Regions from separate parts of the Homo sapiens genome. Here region 2 is linked to region 1. The links are contacts of gene promoters, found by promoter capture Hi-C in human tissues and cell types (Jung and others, 2019). All regions are on one chromosome and are shown on one strand. The core of a region is centred on a gene start or on the middle of the fragment in contact, and the rest is flanking DNA. Distances in the headings are between cores, read along the strand shown. Region 1 holds the start of AUH (AU RNA binding methylglutaconyl-CoA hydratase). Region 2 has its middle 34 kb from the start of MIR3910-2.

Evidence for each region. Contacts are between HindIII fragments. The study calls those that stand out against the background at their distance.
Region 2: a contact is called between a fragment that was not itself captured here and the fragment with the promoter of AUH in region 1, in 1 of the 25 tissues and cell types used here (heart right ventricle).

The regions. Positions count from the first base shown.
Region 1 is chr9:91,360,658-91,363,357 of GRCh38, forward strand. AUH (AU RNA binding methylglutaconyl-CoA hydratase) reads right to left here and starts at 1,261. Exons shown (of 10, transcript NM_001698.3): 1 at 971-1,261. The coding sequence starts at 1,232. RefSeq lists a silencer at 992-1,431. The HindIII fragment of the contact is 4,188 bases long and covers 1-2,700 here.
Region 2 is chr9:91,668,522-91,671,221 of GRCh38, forward strand. No RefSeq gene overlaps it. Among named protein-coding and RNA genes, the nearest start is that of MIR3910-2, 34 kb to the left of the region's middle. The HindIII fragment of the contact is 3,927 bases long and covers 1-2,700 here.

The DNA of each region.
Region 1 (2,700 bases), core at 11-2,510:
AATGGCGAAACCCTGCAGGTATTACAGCCCTTTCCTCTTACCATGCCTTGAAAGTTCACACAGCCTACTAATAACCAGGATCTGCTTCACTACACTAAAACCAATCACGACTTACACGCTTTTCACTTCTGCTTAACAGATTATAGGTGCTCAACAAATGCATGTCAAAATTAAAACACTGGTCCTCTGGCTTAACCCGGAGGTTAAGGGTGGAAACTGCTATTCCACCCTTCACGACCCTTTTAGCTTTTCCCTGCACTGCCAGTGAAAGGAACTGAGCTGTAACAGTATTCCCTAGGATTGTCAGCCTCCTTCAAAGCCTTCAAAGCTCTGTATTGTATTGCTAATGATGTCTCCTCCCGTAGAAGGTAGCTCAAGGGCAAGATCCATACCATCCACATTCTTATCGCCAGAGCTGAGGAAAATAAAAAGTGCTCAAAATTGTTTAAATGAAGTGGAACAGTCCCTCAAGACTAACTTTCTAAGAGAAAATGAACAAGAGGAAAAATTGTTCCAGCTGAGCAGCTTCAAATTTAAGATTCTCCGTAATAATAAAAGGCAGTTTCACCGCAGCTTTTACAACTCCACCACTAATAGCTGAGTTTACAGAAAGCCATTACACAGCAACAATAAAGCCTGGTAGCAAGGATTAAATCCCCAGGGTATATATTGACCTTGGCTTGTCTGGAGCGGAGGGCGTAAGCTGCACTTCTGTTTGCCGCGCTGAATGCGGTCACTTTACAGGTAAGCTGCTCGGGGGTACACGTTTAGGTTATTAAAAGCAAGAAATAGGTGCACAAGGAAGCGGCCACGCTGGGTGAGTAGGGAGGTGAGAAAGGGGAGGGACCCAGGTTCGGTGCGCCTGCCTGACCTCGACCCCGCGTCCTGCCGGCGGACGCTGCACCTTATGCCCGTCCTGAGAGCGAGCGGCCGCCCGCTGCCCCGCGCCTGCCCAGCGTTCGCACCTCACCTCGGTTCTCCTCCTCCAGGTGCCGCACCCGCAGCTCGTCCTCCGTCTTCATCTCAGAGCTGTAGCCCCTTTTCGGGGCGGGACCCCCGGCCGCAGGTACCCAGCCCTGGGCCCAGATCGCCGGGCCCGCTCGCCGGCCTGCCAACGAGCCGGGCAGCCTCAACCCCGGGCAGAGCCACGCACTGCAAGCGGCCACCAGGCGGGCGCCGCCAGCATGCAGGGATCCCAAGGCCCCAGGTGCCGCCGCCACCGCGGCCGCCATGTTGTCTGTTTACGGCGTGGACCTGCGACGGCCGCTCCGCCCCCGCCCGGCGCCGACCTGCCGCGCGCACGCGCACGGCGTCCGGACCCGCCGCCTCGCTCCGGCTTGGCCCCGCCCTCCGGAGCCGTGTTCCCGCCCCTCACTGCCCCGCCGAAGCCCGGTGACCCGAGGCCTTGCCCCATTCTCCAAGCGAGATTGGATGGTTTGTCCAATACAAAAGGAAAGAAAGTAGTTTTCCAAGGTTATGGAATAATTCAGGGAAGACTTTTCTATAAGAACCACCCGGAGGGAATTATCTCCCCGTACTCCCTGGACCATGCCCTGCGGTCCTGTGTTAAGTAAGCTGCAAAAGTGAACAAAAAAGTTTTGTCTCCTCAAGTTGGCTGAAAGTGTGGCAGCCCATCGTTGGTCACTGCCTTACTTATGGATCTCAGGTTGTTGGTTTAGCGTCCCTGATAAGCATAAATGATGTTTACTACGTGGCGTTCAGGAAAAGGATGAGAACAGCAAACAGGCAAAGGAGTTCTTTCTCCAGCCCACCCACTCGTACCGATGTCCCATGGCCCTTCCTGGACGGAAAGAGTCTTACAGGGGTTCAAACAAGCCATACGCTGAGATGGGATTTAGAGTATGTAGCTCTTCCAGAAACTCGGGATATCAATTTAGTGTGTAGGTACTCATCAAAGCACGTTGCAGTATAATTAATGCTACCTAGCTTTTATCAGATCTCTAATGGGAAAGCTTGCATTTAAGAATACTGGGCAGGGGGCGGTGGCTCACGCCTGTAATCCAAGCACTTTGGGAGGCCGAGGCAGGTGGATCACCTGAGGTCAGGAGTTTGAGACCAGCCGGGCCAACGTGGTGAAACCCTGTCTCTACTAAAAATACAAAATTAGCCAGGTGTGGCGGCACACGCCTGTAATCCCAGCTACTCGGGAGGCTGAGACAGGAGAATTGCTTGAACCCGGGAGGCGGAGGTTGCCCTGAGCTGAGACTGCACCATTGCACTCCAGTCCAGGCAACAAGAGTGAAACTCTGTCTCAAAAAAAAAAAAAAAAAAAAAAAAGAATACTGTTTGAAAAGTGTGCTGCTATGAGCATACGTCTAGTGCCACAGAAATTTCTTGTATTTTTTAGTCCTAAGCAAAACATCCTTCATTATGTCCTCAACTTTTATCCAATGTAGAAACAAAAAGTAGACTGAATTCCATTACTGCATCTGCTGTAAAATGATGTTGAAGGCACTTTTATTTTTATTTTTATTTTTTATTTTTTGACAGGTTCTGGCTCTGTCGGCCAGGCTGGAGTGCAGTGGTGTGATCGCCTCTCGCTGCAACCTCTGCATCTCAGGCTCAAATGATCCTCCCACCTCAGCCTCCTGAGTAGCTGGGATCACAGGCACACACCACCACACCTGGGTAATTTTTGTATTTTTAGTAGAGATGGGTGTTTCTATGTTGGCCAGGCTG
Region 2 (2,700 bases), core at 135-2,634, 310 kb after region 1:
TCTTGAATTAACAAAATATGTATTTTTATATATATACGAAATCATGCAGTGTTGGCCCTTTTGATATTGACATTTTTGCTCAGCATGTTTTTGAGACCCATTCAAGTATTGTATGTTTCAATAACTTGTTTTCTTTTTTATTTCTGAGTAGTATTCCATGTATGATATATCCTAGTTTGCTTAACCATTCATCCATTGAGGAATCCTGTCATTGTTTCCACTTTTTGGTAATACAAATAAGGCTGCTATAAACAATTATTTATAGGTTTTGTGCAAATATAAGTTTTCATTGAGCTGATTGAAATAAAAGCCCAGGAAATCAGTGGCTAGATTTTATGGTTAGTGTAAGCTTAGTTTTCTAAGAAATTGCCAAATGACTTTTAAGAATGCCTGTATTGGCTGGCACGGTGGCTCACGCCTGTAATCCCAGCACTTTGGGAGGCCGAGGCGGGCAGATCACGAGGTCAGGAGTTTGAGACCAGCCTGACCAACATGGTGAAACCTCGTCTCTACTAAAAATATAAAAATTAGCTGGGCATGGTGGTGCACACCTGTAATCCCAGCTACTCATGAGGCTGAGGCAGGAAATCACTTGAACTCAGGAGGCGGAGGTTGCAGTGAGCTGAGATCACACCACTGCACTCCAGCCTGGGTGACAGAGTGAGACTCCATATCAAAAAACAAAACAAAACAAAAAATAGAATGCTTGTATCATTTTACATCCTCACCAGCAATGTATGAAAGATACCGTTTTTCTGCTTCTCCACCAGCATTTAGAGTTACCATTATTTTTAAAGTTTAGTTGGCCTAATAAATGTATAGTGATATCCCAATATGGTTTGACGTTGAATACCTTTTCAAGCACTCATTTTCTATCTGCATATCCTCTTCTTGCCTTTTGTCCATTTTCCAGTTGGATTGTTGTCTTTTAATGCTGATTTCTGAGAGTTCTTTGTTATTCTAGATATGAGTCCTGCGCCAGATGTGGCTTGCAAATATTTTATCCCAGTAGCTTGTCTTTCCACGTTCCTATCAGGGTCTTTTGCAAAACAAAAGTTTTAACTTTTGATAAAGTCCAATGTATTAACTTTTTGCTTTTATAGAATGTGTTTGTTTGTTTGTTTGTTTTAAAGTTCCAGGATACATGTGCAGAACGTGCAGGTTTGTTATATAGGTATATGTGTGCCATGGTGGTTTGCTGCACCCATCAACCCGTCATCTAGGTTTTAAGCCCCACATGCATTAGTTATTTGTCCCTCCCCTCACCCCCCATCCCCTGACAGACCCCGGTGTGTGTTGTTCCCCTCCCTGTGTCCATGTGTTCTCATTGTTCAACTCCCACTTATGAGTGAGAACATGCCGTGTTTGGTTTTCTGTTCCTGTGTTAGTTTGCTAAGGATGATGGCCTCCAGCTTCATCCATGTCCCTGCAAAGGACACGATCTCATTCCTTTCTATGGCTTCATAGTATTCCATGGCATATATGTGCCACATTTTCTTTATCCAGTCTATCACTAATGGGCATTTGGGTTGGTTCCATGTCTTTGCTATTGTAAATAGTGCTGCAGTAAACATACGTGTGCATGTGTCTTTATACTAGAATGATCTCTATTCCTTTGGGTATATATCCAGTAATGGGATTGCTGGGTCAAATGCTATTTCTGGTTCTAGATCCTTGAGGAATTGCCACAGTGTCTTCTACAATGGTTGAACTAATTTACACTCCTACCAGCAGTGTAAAAGCACTATTTCCCCACAGCCTCGTCAGCATCTATTGTTTCTTGACTTTTTAATAATCGCCGTTCTGACTGGCATGAGATGGTATCTCATTGTGATTTTGATTTGTATTTCTCTAATGATCAGCGATGTTGAGCTTTTTTTCATATGTTTGTTGGCTGCATAAATGTCTTCCTTTGAGAAGTATCTGTTCATATCCTTTGCCCACTTTTCGATGGGGTTGTTTTTTTCTTGTAAATTTGTTTAAGTTCCTTGTAGATTCTGGATATTAGGTCTTTGTCAGATGGGTCGATTGCAGAAATTTTCTCCCATTCTGTAGGTTGCCTGTTCACTCTGATGATAGTTTCTTTTTCTGTGCAGAAGGTTTGCAAAGGAAATGCTTCGCTTTTGCCTATTCAGTATAATATTGGCTGTGGGTTTGTCATAAATAGTTCTTATTATTTTGAGATAATGTTCAATATCTAGTTTATTGAGAGTTTTTAATATGAAGGGATGTTGAATTTTATTGAAGGCCTTTTCTGCATTGCATCTATTGAGATAATCATGTGGTTTTTGTCATTGGTTCTTTTTATGTGATGGATTACGTTTATTGATTTGCATATTTTGAACCAGCCTTGCATCCCAGAGATGAAGCCTACTTGATTGTGGTGGGTAAGCTTTTGACGTGCTGCTGGATTTGGTTTCCCAGTATTTTTATTGAGGATTTTTGCATTGATGTTCATCAGGGATATTGGTCTGAAGTTTATTTGTTGTTGTTGTTGTTGTGTCTCTGCCAGGTTTTGGTATCAGGATGATGCTGGCCTCATAAAATGAGTTAGGGAAGATTCCCTCCTTTTCAATTGTTTGGAATAGTTTCAGAGGGAATGGTACCAGCTCCTCTCTGTACCTCTGGTAGAATTCAGCTGTGAATCCATCTGGCCCTGGGTTTTTTTTTATTGGTAAGCTATTAATTACTGCCTCAATT